3 separate regions of the Homo sapiens genome follow, and all the other regions are linked to region 2. The links are contacts of gene promoters, found by promoter capture Hi-C in human tissues and cell types (Jung and others, 2019). All regions are on one chromosome and are shown on one strand. Each heading gives the region's core, a stretch centred on a gene start or on the middle of the fragment in contact. The rest is flanking DNA. Distances are from core to core; before and after follow the strand shown. Region 1 overlaps SLC14A2-AS1 (SLC14A2 antisense RNA 1). Region 2 holds the start of SETBP1 (SET binding protein 1). Region 3 has its middle 170 kb from the start of SLC14A2-AS1.

What was found. The method cuts DNA at HindIII sites, captures the fragments that hold promoters and counts their contacts. A contact is called where the count stands out against the background at its distance.
Region 1: a fragment that was not itself captured here is called in contact with the fragment with the promoter of SETBP1 in region 2 in 1 of the 25 tissues and cell types used here (dorsolateral prefrontal cortex).
Region 3: a fragment that was not itself captured here is called in contact with the fragment with the promoter of SETBP1 in region 2 in 1 of the 25 tissues and cell types used here (dorsolateral prefrontal cortex).

The regions. Positions count from the first base shown.
Region 1 is chr18:45,440,881-45,445,786 of GRCh38, reverse strand. All of the region lies in intron 6 of SLC14A2-AS1 (SLC14A2 antisense RNA 1), which reads left to right. It also overlaps a transcript of SLC14A2 not described here. Among named protein-coding and RNA genes, the nearest start is that of SLC14A2-AS1, 61 kb to the left of the region's middle. The HindIII fragment of the contact is 3,859 bases long and covers 207-4,065 here.
Region 2 is chr18:44,678,437-44,682,788 of GRCh38, reverse strand. It overlaps SETBP1 (SET binding protein 1), which reads right to left and starts at 1,901. Exons shown (of 6, transcript NM_015559.3): 1 at 1,768-1,901. SETBP1-DT (SETBP1 divergent transcript) reads left to right here and starts at 2,917. Exons shown (of 2, transcript NR_187430.2): 1 at 2,917-3,173; 2 at 3,900-4,352. RefSeq lists an enhancer at 86-155 and silencers at 2,027-2,076, 2,217-2,466, 3,137-3,776. The HindIII fragment of the contact is 9,552 bases long and covers 637-4,352 here.
Region 3 is chr18:45,327,128-45,331,510 of GRCh38, reverse strand. It overlaps a transcript of SLC14A2 not described here. Among named protein-coding and RNA genes, the nearest start is that of SLC14A2-AS1, 170 kb to the left of the region's middle. The HindIII fragment of the contact is 5,428 bases long and covers 1-4,229 here.

The sequences.
Region 1 (4,906 bases), core at 887-3,386, 760 kb before region 2:
GGGCCTCATCTGCCTCTTGATATCATGCCATAAAGGCAACTGCCTACTCCATCTGTGATATCTGCATAGGGCCAACTCTATTCTCATCTAACCTAATCTGTAGCTTGTTGGGCCACTAACTTCAATTAATGTTTGCACATATTACTCATTCAATCTTTCAATCATTCCTATGAGCTAGGTTGGTATTCTTATTATTCTTGTTTTAAAGATGAGAAAACAAGCAGAGAGAGATTGGGCAATCTCCCCAAGTTTACACAGCAAGTGAAGAAAAGACCACCACAGACTCAAATGTAGGCATCTTTGTTTTTATCACTAAAGAATAAACAGTTGGATCCTCCATCACAAATGTCTCTTACGTCCTATCAAAAATGGTGTCAGGCCAGGCTTGGTGGCTCACGCCTGTAATCCCAGCACTTTGGAAGGCTGAGGCGGGCAGATCATGAGGTCAGGAGTTCGAGATCTGCCTGGCCAACATAGTGAAACCACATATCTACTAAAAATATAAAAATTAGCCAGGCATGGTGGTGCATGCCTGTAGTCCCAGCTACTTGGGAGGCTGAGGCAAGAGAATTGCTTGAACCTGGGAGGCGGAGGTTTCGGTGAGCCAACGTTGTGCCACTGCACTTCAGCCTGGGGAACAGAGCAAGACTCCGTCTTAAAAAAAAAAAAAAAAAAAAAAAGCATGTCAATTTGCCACAAAGAGTTAAACATCTGCACATTTACTCCCTTACCTACAAGATTCCCATCATCCATTTGTTTTGCATTCCTTCATAGTTCCATTCACTCATTAATTCATTTAACAAATATTTTCGAAGCACATTACTTGGTACCAGTCATTGTATTAGATACTGGCTATCAAATCCAAGTTTACAAAAGGAAATTGAACCAATGGGCTATTAGCTGAATTGACAACGTGATCTAATGACTTTGATGTTGGTAGAGACCTCTCCACTTTCTCCACCTCTCATAGGCTCCCTGAGAGAAGTAGCTTTAAAAAGAGCTGTCGATGCACACCTACCTGTGCGGCTCGCCACTGGCTCCCACTTTTAAAGAGATGATGGCATGATTTCTGATTACAGCCATTAGATAAAATGAAATAGAGAAAGCTGGCTCACCAGTTTCATCCTGCTTAATCAAATAGCCTAATTCATCATATTCACTCACATGATAGTGCCTTTCCACACTTCAAAGACAGGCATGCACAAGCCCAGTTCAGGTTTCCATCCAACGGCAACTCACTCCTTTTTAAATATGGACAGATCATCTTTTCTTCTTTATTTTCCCCCTTCTGAAAACCTATTTCAGATCCAGCCAGGAAGAAACCTATGCTGGGGATAGCATTATCCTTCATGACAGAATTCAGCAGAATTTCTTTCTTACTGACTTTGGGGCTGGAGTGGGGTCTGAGCCAGGATCAGAATATCAAAGTATGTCAGAACTGGCAGGGTCCACAGGGAGAAGGTAGTGCATCCACTCACTTTACAGATAAGAAAACCTACAAGATTGCCACAAAGCAGGAGCAGAGCTTCAGCTTCCAGACTCCCTAGCCAGAGCTCTCAACTTGTCTTATCTCTAGGATTGCTGTTAACACCTCAGAAAACCTTAGAACAGGGCTTCCAGTTGGTTCTTCAGTACACGCACAAAAGTCTGCCTTCAGATACATTGCTGATGGTTCCACAGAGGATCCAAACTTTCTTTATGATAGAAACAAATTTGCAGCATTGGTAATGGTTACTCTACTGTGCTTCCATTTCTTCTCCCTTGTCCTCTTTACTTTTTCCAGGGACCCACTCTCCATGTGTGTTTCCAGGAATTTTGTACTGCTAATTGCACCTGTTTTCTCTCCCTAAGGCCTGGATTATGGAAAAGACTACTCTGGATAGGCTTCTTTCTCCTTCCCTTTCAAAGAGCCTCTGCACCCAGCTGACTATTATTATTTCAAATGAAGAGAGGGAATGCCTTACACCCTTATTCAAAATGAGATCTGAGTGACTGATGTAGGGTCTCAGAAAAACATACCCCAAAACAAATCCCTCAGAAGCAAAAGTCTTTCTCTGACCTGCCCTCCTCTCTCTGCCTCTCATTCTTCCCAAGGCTAGCCATAGAAACTAGAACCCCTCTGCCCTACAGAAGATCACAGAAACTAGAACTCCATTTCCCCCAATCCAGCCATAAAACCTACAAAGATTACTCTAACTCTTCCCCCACCCCCACTGCCTTTCTGTGTAAATCAAGATGGCCATCAAGAAATTATCTGACCTATCTTCTTTGACTGTAGGTCATAAGACCCCCATTCCAGAGACAGTTCTGCCACACATCCACGGAAAGATTGTGTGTTCAAAGAGGCCAAGAAGAATCTAGACAGACAGGCCTTACTGGGCATCCCCAATCAGTCCATTAGCATCAGATGATGCCTTTTTTTGTCCAGTTGTATTTCTACATAGTTATCCTTACTTTGCTGAACCTAAGCATAAAAATAGACAGTTTTCCCTGCATCTTTGGGTCTTCATTTTGAAAGCTCACAAGTCATGGAAAACTATGATCACACACATTTATATGCCTCTTCTCCTATTAGTTTGCCTCTTGTCAGTGATTTTCAGTGAATCTTCAGAATGTAAACCTTCACCTTCCCCTTCCCCTTCAGTGAACCTACACTGCCAACTAATATACTGGGGAAACTGTTAATTTGAAACAAGGATAAATCTCATGGTTAAATTTCAGTGGGTTTAGACTTTGGAGCAAGGAGACTTTCCCAAATAGTTTTCAAAACATGCACATATAAAACCATACATATGTGCACAGCTGGCCCACATATTGACATTGTGTAGACACAGTCTAAAAGCTTCAACAACCTAGCACCTGCCAATCCCCATGCACAGACACATCCTGGGCAACCTAGACAATATGGTTGATGTATACAGGAGGGAATTTTTTTCTAGCTACCTGACTTAGTTAAAGATAAATCTTTAGCAAATGAAGGCTTAGCAAACAATAACAATAGTGATAGTAGCTTCCTTTATGGAACACTTAATTTGTAATTAAGCTTTATATACATCTCACTTTTTTTTCTGACAAGCCTTTTATGAATTGATTGTATCTTCCCAAAATTCATATGTTGAAGTCCTAACTCTTAATATATTAGAGTATAATCTTATTTGGAAATAAGTTTATCCCAGATGTAATGAGTTAAGATAAGGTTATAATGGAGTAGGGTGGGCTCCTAATCCAACATAACCTGTGTCTTAATAAAAAGAGGAAATTTGGATATAGAGACATACACAAAGGGAGAATACTGTGTGAGGATGAAGGCAGAGATCTGAGTGATGCCTTGACATGCCAACGAAAGTCAAAGATTGCCAGCAAACCACCAGAAGCAAGAGGAGAGACATGGAACAGAATCTTCCTCACAGTCTCAGAAGGAATGAACTCTATCAATACCTTGATCTCTGACTTCTGGACACCAGAAGTGTGAGACAATAAATTTCTGTTATTTAAGCCATCCAGTTTGCGGCACTTTGTGATGGCAGTGCTAGCATACTACCACAAAGCCTTTGAATAGTCCTATCCTCATTTTATCAACAAGGAAACTGAGGCTCACATCAGTTAAATAACTTGCCCAAGACCACATAGCAGGTAAGGAGCAAAGCCAGTATTCAAACTTGGATCTGCATGCTCTGCTCCTTCTCAGGTACGGGAAATTGTGTTGGTAAAAGCTAGGAAAGGCTAGTTTTTCCTCCACAACAAGCCAGATATGATACATCTTCCTTGTCAGCCTGGAATAGGACAGCCAGTTCTCCCAGGTCACACTCCCATCACTAATAGCACTCCGGGGTCTGTTGTCTACTTTTTTCATGTTTCTCCTTGTTCAGCAATTAACAGAATCCCAAATCAAATGCCAAGGGATGACATTAGAAAATAAAGTTTCCCTCTTCAATCTTCTCGTTTCATTTCTTTAGCCCTGAAAATGCACTGGAGGCCCCCAAATGCAGTGCATGCTTCATATTGTTTCTGAGAGAGCAAATTCCTAAATTCATCTGGGCTGGGAAGGAAAGCCAAGATTAAACCTAAAATGCTTCCTCATTCCTGGTTTCTGTGGCCAGAGTACCTCCTTGCCCTCTGGCATCCATCCATGTAGATGTCACAAACACACATGTATGGGCATGCGTGCACGTGTGCATGCACACAAACACAGAGAAAAGTTGAACTTGGCTCTCTCACTGAAGCCAAACAGACCAGATTCCTCCTAGGCCTCCTTGTCTTACTGCCCTTCCAGCACTAAGCACTGGTGGTCCCACACTTAGGAGTGTTCTCTCACCCTGTCTCCTGAAGCCAAGATCCATGGCGGTCCTGGGTAATGGCTATGGCATTCTTCTTTTAGGGTTTTGACTGGGTGGAGAAAAGGGGAGTGTGAGGGCAGAGAAATGGCAGCCCGTTTGGATTTTATTCCATTTCCAAATCATTTGAATATCATGCCCCTCCACAAGAGGGCACATGTAGACTTATCCTTGGAATCTCTGCTTGAAAGAGCCATTTCTTAGCATTTCCCAAGCTGAAAAATTATGTAAAACTACATTTTAAAAAGGCACCTTGTTATTTTTCTGAGCAGTGAGGCTGGAACATTGGCATAAGTAGAATGCAGTCAAAGACAGCCAAAGTGGAAAAAGAGAGGGCATGGCTGTCCGAGGGAAGGGACAGTTGGGAGCAGGCAGAAGCAGTCAGATGGTTTCAAATCCACAGTTCAGCTCCAGAGATTGGGCAAAAATAGGAGACCAGAAATAGAGAAGTCAGTCAATGGCAGATCAAAACACAATGAAGCACGAACACGGCAGCCTGGATGATCCTCAGGGAGGATGCTGTTTATTGTCTTTTTATTCTCCCGGCATTTGAGTCCTAGAGCAATGCTGGA
Region 2 (4,352 bases), core at 652-3,151:
GGGAGGAGAAATCGTGTGCCAAGCAACACTCTGGGTACCTGGTCTCCATATCTTTGGGGGCTACATTCCCTGCCGTTTGCAAATACTCTGTTTAACCACACTTGATTTCTTCCTCCTCTTCCGACTTTCCCCCAAACACTCTGTCTTAATACCCTTTTCTGGGAACAGGCAATGAGACTAAGCACAGGGGAAAACACAGCACCTCACCTTCACTCTGACACCTGGGAATCCCTCGTCAGAGCAAAAGAGCTCACGCCTCCCTCAGGGAGTTTAAGGATGGTAGAAGCCAGAGAAATCAGAAAAAAAGGGAGGGAGTGACCTGGGATGGTAAACTAGCTACATCTTAAAGTGCTACAAACTTTCTCCTCCCTCACACGCCCCTGTCTGGTTGGCTCCGCCTTCCCATCCCAGCTGGGGTGTGCAAAGGAAACTCTCCCCGGAATGCCCAGGTCTGGTCCAGTGTTGAAGATGTGGCCTGCACACAACACCGCCCTTCCTCTCCAAATACCTCTTCTCTACCCCATCCCCTTTCTCCCACGACACACACATGCTTTGCACGTGAAGATGAGTTTGGATGGGGCACAGGAGATATACCTATTTACTAAAGGAGGGTAAGAGATGGTGCCAAATCGGCAGATAGTTTTGGTGACAGTACAGAGACTTCAAGAAATTAGTTTTTAGTATAAATCTACAGAAAAAGAAGAAAAACAGGATGAAGAGTGAAGGAATGAAAAGAAAAAGAAGGAAAAAGATGTAAGAGAAAAACAATCAACGCCAGTGGACTCCAACTAAACTTTAAGGGGAAAGGTGTGGATAGTTGGCAGGAGGTGGGGGGAGTGTAGGGGCTGGAAGGGAAAGGTATCTGCTGTAGAATTCCAGAATAAACTGCCCTTTTGGAGGAGAGTTTCTGCAGGGATAAAGAGACACACAAATTGCCCTTTTAGCGTTAGATGTCAACCGTGAGATTATCAGGACAGTTTATTTGAAACGGAAACGAATCGGAAATCCTTCCCACAACAGTCCTTTTAGACAGATACACACCCTGAGAATCCAACACAGACACACATAAAGAATAAATGCAGCATTAGGGGGCAATAAGAACTCCCCTTCCACACTCTCAATACCTCTAGCCTCATCTATTTCCAATTGCACAACTTTCAATCTCCAATGAAAATATTTCCAGTTGGATCCGATTTCAGACTTGTAGTAAGCGGTCTGGATGGGGGGGCGGGGGGAATAGGTGCTGTACTGTGCAGGGGAGGGGGGCTGGAAGACAGTATTTCGGCAGTTAACTTATTTTTTTAGAACCAGCATGCTCTACCGATCAGAAATTGCTATTACCCAACAATGCTTCCATCACAAACAGACACTGAAAACAGCATCCCCGTTATCACCATCTTGCCAAAGATCTGCCCGGTCCAGTTTACCTGACTTTGTCCCTGCGGAACTTCTCAGACAGTATTTCGGTCAAAGAGATAATGGTTTGGAAGACAAAAACAATAAATCGATACCGAAGGGTTCCCTTTCCGGAGTGATTTCCCACTGGAAACCACCGAACGGGGAAGCCTGCCGTTCATTCCCAAGCCCACGGCTCCTCTAGAAACGCACACAATGCGTGCTTTCAAAAAGGCATTCGTCTGCTTTTAAGGGAATTCCTATCTTTTCAGAGTCCCAAAACCAGAGAGCACAAGAAAGAGACTCAAATCCATTGATTAAGATTTTTAAGAAAAAGACTAACACACAGGCACAACACAAGCACACACCAACCTTCGCCGGCTGGACCACTTCTTGCCTGTTCTTCTTTCTATTAACGACACGTTAGATTCTGATACATTCCCCCCCCAAAAAAATCCAACTAGGTTACAATGTAGCTCTCTAGCTCCACTTAACCTGCAAGTTACAAAGAGAGAAAAAAAAAATCCTGCCTTCCCACCCCTTTCCTTACCCCCTCCCCCTCCCGAGTCCACTCCACCAACGCCAAACCCGCCAGCCCCGCCAGCCGGCTGCAGGACCGAGGGAGGGTGCAAAAGGCGGGGGGCGGAGGGGGGGTAGATCAGATTAGGCGAAACTCAATAAGCTCCCAGCCCTCCAGCCCAAAGCTTCCACCATCGCCGCCACCAACGAGCCACTCCAATTGAGCCAGCATCGCCGCCCACCCGCCGGCCCGCCGGAATCGCGCCCATCTCCTGCAACCTCGCCCGGACCGGCATCCCGCCCCCTCGGCCCGGTCTCCCCCTTCCCGCCGGGTGCAAAGTCAAAGACCCAGCAAGGCGACGTGAACTTTTGCATGCAGGGCACACACGTCGCCCCCGGTTCCGGGAGTGCGGGGGCCCGCGGCGCGGAGGGAGGCTGGGCGCCCGGGCTCCCGGGCCAAGGTCGCCGCGCGTGCTCACCCATGTCCCGGCGGCTCCGGCTCCGCTGGCCCCGGCGCTCGCTCAGATCCCGGCTCCCGTCGCTCGCCCGAGCCCCCAAAGGTGCTGCTGCGGCAACTCCATGGCGATGAGCATCTGTCAAACGGCGAGCCGCGAGCTGGCCGCCCTAGCTCGGGGGGCGCCGGGGCCCCCGGGCGCGCGGAGGCGGCGGCGAGCGGCGGGCGCCCCGGCCGGCCCCGCGCTTCCCGCCCGACTCTGCCGCCTCCGCCGCGCCACCGATTTATGGAGAGAGATATCAAGGGGGAAAATGGCGTCTCCGGAGCCCGAGGAGTCCTGGAGTAATCACATTCACACACACACGCCCGCACGCACACACACTCGCACACACTGGCACACAGGCGCGCGGCGAGCCCTGCTAATTTTAGCAGGAGCCAAAAAAAATTTTATATATATATATATATATATATATATATATATATCCCCGTCTCTCCGATCAATGCTTTTTCTTTTTTTGCTTTTTTTTTTTTTTTTTTTTTTTTTTTTGCTTTTCTTCAAAGGATGGGTTGGAGCGTTAAAAAATGTTGGTGGGTTTGGGCTCGCAGGAGGCGGCGCGCGGAGGGCGAGGGCGCTTTTGCTGAGCTGTGCAGTTCGGTCCGCTGAGCCCGGCGGCCCTGCCCGCCCGCTCGTCCGCCCGCGGTCGCTAGTGTTGCCGCCGCCGCCGCCGCCGCCGCCGCTGCTGCTCCATGGCCGCGCCCGCCCCGCGCCCCCGCCGCGTCCCGTCGCCGCCCGCCCGCGTCCCCGGTGAGCGCTGGAGTGGGGTCGGGCCCGTGTGCCTGCCTCCCGCGCCCTCTCCGAATCCCGGACTCCTAGTGAAAGGAAGGGGGAGGGCGCGGGCGCGGAAGGGAGGTGGATCGGAGCGGCAGCGCGGCCCAGCCGAACGGGTACCGACCGTCACCCCGCGATCTTCCTCGCAGGGGGCGCCGGCGCCCAAGCTGCTCGCCCGGAGGGCCCAGAGCCGCTTCCCAGACCAGAGCCGGGGGAGGCGCAGCCAGTAGCGAGCCCTGAGCGACCTCTCTCCCCACTCGCCCCCCTGCCCCAGTGAATTTCTGTCAGTTGAAGGGAGCGGGGCTCTTGCCCGGGGAAAAGGAAAACAGTTCGTGGCCTGGGATCTGGGACCCCTTGCCGCCCCCAGCGCCCCTCCCGCTCCCCGGCGCCCTTGCGGCCCAGTGGCTCCTGCGCGCCGGAGTCCGCCGCGAAGACTGAGCGGCCGCGGGGATCGCCGCGGGCTCCGCGCGTATTCCTGGGCTCAACACTGCCACTATCTGACACAACAGGAGCAGTGTCGGGGGGGTACTGCGCGCCCAGACGTGAGCTGTGATAGGCTCTCGAAACTGGGCGCATTTTTTTTTTAACCTGGTAATTATATTTCACTTTCAGGGTTTTTTTAAATTATTATTATTATTTTATTGTTGTTGTTAAGCGACTTGTATGCATTCAGATCTCATGTGCATTTTCTCGTTATTCAAGAGAATTGGACACTTGATGAAGGGAAGGACACGGAGAGATGACAAACGCAGACTGGCATGCAGTTGTTTTCAGGGTGGGAAGAACAAAGTGGAATGTCTTCAGTTCTTACAAAATATGGTGGCATTTGTAATCTCTGAGTTTTTGTATTTGGCCTACAAAGGGGGTCTTTTCAGGGAAACACGAATGGAACCCTTCAGAGACATGTCTACATTGTAAAACAATATAGGATAGATACGGATTCGGGAAGGTCTGCAAATGGTTCCGCTCAAAGAACTTGGGGTAAAGTTGACCGAGGACTCGGATTCTGAGAGGACTCCTATCACGTTCTTCATGAGAGTTTTAGGCTATTTGGACTGAGGAATGATTTGGAGGTACGTCGGGGGCATTCCCTCACTGAGGCCATCAGTGGCTGCCTCCCTGCATTGGCTGCTGGTTTGAGTTCCTTCACAGAAC
Region 3 (4,383 bases), core at 266-2,765, 650 kb before region 2:
CACGTGTTAGCCAGGATGGTCTCGATCTCCTGACCTTGTGATCCGCCTGCCTCAGCCTCCCAAAGTGCTGGGATTACAGGCGTGAGCCACCACACCCGGCCAGGATTAAATATTTTTTAAATTATGTAAAAACTAAAAAAGAGAGGGTTACTTCTTTGCCATCTTTAGAAACTTGCTGAGGGAAGAGCAGCTCCATGCTGCTTGTCAAAATTTTTATGTAGTTTTAAAATAATTTAGTATTTGTATAAGGGGATATTACAGGAGACTTGGCTTTAGGTTTTACTTCACTGGGTTCCCAAATCTGAAGACAAAGGGAGTTAGATGTCCGTATATTCTAAAGACGGATGCCTGAACATCGATGCAGTACTTGCTAGGAATATGGCTGTTGTGGGTTGAATGGTGTCATATATGTCTCCAATTATTTTATCCAAAAGTCTTACAGAATTTGGGGCACAAAAATATCAACAATTTTACCTATGTATTTTCTTATGTTCCTTGGGTTTTATGTTATATCACCATTTGTATATTTTTTCAATCACGTATTTTTTGAAAATGCATGAAGCACTTCCATGTTTGTGTGGTATGTGTCAATTTATCCTCACAACAACCACATAAATTCAAGAAGGCAGAGATTATCCCAAACTTTTAGCTCAGGAATTGTAGACTCAGTGCAACGGCTTCTCTAGCTAGTGAGTGTCAATGAAAGACTTGATCCAGAATCTTGATCTTCTTATTTCAAGCCCAATATTCTCTTTCTCTAATACAAGACTTTCTGAATTGGAAATGGCCCGAGGGACAGCGTGTTAAGGGTCTGGCGGGAGAGTGAAGACTTGCCTGGGTGCATCACATCCATGACCTCACATCTGCATGCAGAGCTGAAAAAGGATCTATGTGTGCTAACTCATGAAGTCCATATTCCATGTTCCTGTGGGCTATTTGGGATGGGCAGGCATTCTGCCTTCTTTAGTATATCCTCTATCACTCAAAGATAGGGCATGACTAACATTCCACGTTCATCACTCCTCAGCCTCTGGCAACCATGCACCATCATCACTTACACACAAAAATGTTTTCCCAGCCTCCCATCAGAAGGCCGTGTGCTCTGAAATGCAACCTCAAGCCTAATGATAAATTTTCCCCCAGCTACCCACACTCTTTTGCCTGTGACCAATTGTCTGTGACCAATTTCAAGTCCAGCTGGACAGGCTTAGGGGTACAATTGGAAGCCAAAAAAAGAGGCTGTCTTGATGTAACACAAACACCAGAGGTCACAGTCATGGCTCTGGTCTCACTAGCTCCTTGCTTGACCCTACTGAATGAGCTGGCTGGGATATCAGTTCTGCTTGCTTTCCAGGTCTCAGCTTACACCCAAAGACTCATCAACCAAGCAGGTTCAGACCCTCCTTCAGTCACTGAAATCCAAAATTATTTAATTCTTTGAGCCTTAGTTTCCTCTTCTGTAGAACGAGATATTATTTTCTCTTTGCTGAATGGTTATGAAGGTTAAGTGAGAGTATGTATATAAAGCACTTGTCACTGCACACAACATAACCTCAATAAATGGTGCCCATGATAGCAAGGATGATAATAGGTTTACAAGTATTATTTATTATATTACAAACCATGATGACTTGGAATTTAAACTGGGTGTCTGCCTAGTTGAGTTTACCTAAGTTTTTGTTTGTTTGTTTCTTTGTGTTGGCTCCATGCATGTATAGTATCTCCTTCTATCTTTTTCCTTCCCAAATAAACATCTATTTCTGGTCAAGCACTGTGCTGGGCACTGTGGGAGTTACAAAGAAGAGAAAGATGCACTTCTAGACTTGCAGGCATTTAGAATCTCACAGCAGAGTCAAGGTATACATATTTTAAACAATTGGATAACAACACAGGCTGGTGGCAATTGAGAAAAAGTGGGGAAAAAAAACCTTTCATTCTTGCTCCACTGAGTCTTACCCCCTCCTTATAAATTACCTCAGGTGTCAATCACTAGCTTTGGCTCCAAATGCTCAAGCACATTTCTAAATGGAAGCTTCCCTGGGACACAGTCTTTTCTATTTGTAGAGGGTGTTGTAGTCTGCAAATTGATGGTTATTTGAAGATATGCTAGGGAGGAGGACAGGGATCACTCTAGAGGCAGGGTGCTGCCAGCATGCACACATACACACTCATCATCCCTAAGGCTCCCCAAGTTCAGTCTCTTTGAAATGAACTTGCCTCACCGTCTTGCAAGAAATATATAATTGTATGGCCATTTCCTCCATCATAATCTGCTCCATAATACAGAAGAAATGCTACCTTGCCAAAGGAAATAAGACATTGGCAATCAGCATCTCTCCCCAGACCTTGTCAAAGAGCCATAACCGTAACAAAATAAACAAATAGATCATCAAAACATTTCTTTTCCCTTTCCCCTCACTTGTCTCCTTTTTTTCTTTCACTTTGAATGCTCCATTAGAGTGTAGAAAATTTCACAGTTTTCTCCAGCTCTGGAAAAATCGTTAGGCCCTTCTGCTGGTCGGCTTTGGAAACATTTGGAACAAATTATCTCTACTTTTGGAATCTGAATAAAGGAATGTGAGCTTCACTGGAGAAATGTGAAATCTAGGGCGGGATTCGCAAAATGGTTTAAGGTTTGCTTTTGCACACATACTTTTTTTGAGTTTGTTTGGGTTTGGAACGTATTATAAGAAAAATAACAAGATTTGCAATGTGCTTTTCATAATTCCTTTGCTTTTCATAAAAACCAATTGGCTCCTCCTCCAGTGCTCCCCCATCACCTTGCAGAAGGAGCTCCCATCTTTAGTGTTAAGCATATGCTTCTTACATAACATGTAATCTACCAGTTAGGGTCAAGGAAGAGAAGGAAGATTTTCTGGGAACTTGTTCTTTACCAAATCACAAATTTAATCCTATTGTTATTCTATCAACTTCTTGATGTCCAAATACCCCTCCAAGAAGTTGACGCAGCCCCTGAGGGAGTTACTGAGACTTCATGAATCTCAAGACTGAGTTGTCTTATCTGAGCTCAAGAGCAGCTGTCTCAGGGCATAACCTCAGTGCAACTGAAACCCTGAAAATGCTGTGACAGAGTTGGCTTTTGTCCTGCGCTAGTATCCATGGCTTTGTCCATCATTCCTGTCTCTGGCCCTGTGGTTGATGTTCAGTGATAATAAACACAGACCTCCTACTTGAGCCACAAGCAGCATACCCTGAGATGCGTTTGCTGGGGACTCCAGGACCACACTTCCTTTTTGCTCTGCAGACACAAGCACCTTCAGGAGGAGAATGCACTTGCTTTCATATGAGAGGCAGGAATAAAGAGTCAGATAAACAGGCCTGGGAAAAGGGAGCATGAGGAGGAGAGGGAACAGAGAGCTCTAAAGCCTTTGTTCCAGGAGGAAAATCCTTATGGAACAACATTTTTTTTTCTTCCACTTTGTTTTTTCAGTTGCCAAGAGGGCTATGTTTACCAAACCTGCTTAAGTGTCTAGACAGTATATTTCCAACATTCTCTTCAGCTATCCCCATACAAACATGATATCTGTCAAGTCATGTCCTTCTCATTTTTAGTTCAGAGAAAAGTAGGCACCATAATCTTTCTATAGTTTATGAAGCCTCATTCAGAGGCTGTCTATGAATTTACCAAGCCTTATCATTCCCTTCGCTCACTCCTACCCCTATAATTTAGGTAAATATACATCACACCCAACCAATGACATAATAAAAGTGCCTGGCCTAGTCCATCAATGGATACATACATAAACAAAATGTTTTCGGCCTCAAAAAGGAAGAAAATTCTGACACATGCTACAACGTAGACGAACCTTGAAAACCTTATGCTGTGTGAAAGAAGCCAGACACAAAAGGACAAATATGTATATGATTCCACTTACATGAAGTACCTAGAGTAGTCAAATTCATAGAGACAGAGGTAGAATAGAGGGTACCAGGGACTGTAATGCAGAGGAGAAGAGATTGAGGGTTTTTGAATGGGTAAAGTGTTTCTATTTGAGTACGGTTTCTGTTTGGGATGATGAAAAAGGTCTGGAGATGGATAGTGGTGATGGTTGCATGGCATTGCGAATGTACTTAATGCCACTGAGCTGTCTCATTTAGCATGGTACACTGGGCTACATTTAGCATGGTAAAAATGGTAAAATTTATATGTAAATTTTACCAAAAAAGCACTGGGCTATTGATTTGCAGGCCCTTATTACTAGAAAAAGAGCCCAAATGCACATTCTTCAAGAGTAAAAAAAATATACTAATTACATTATGGCTCCTACCAAGTAGGTGGGATAGCTAGCTCATAATAGGGAATTGTGGTGCTTAGAACCTTGCTTAAATCAGGAACATCTTGGGTTGAGCATATTTTGTTAA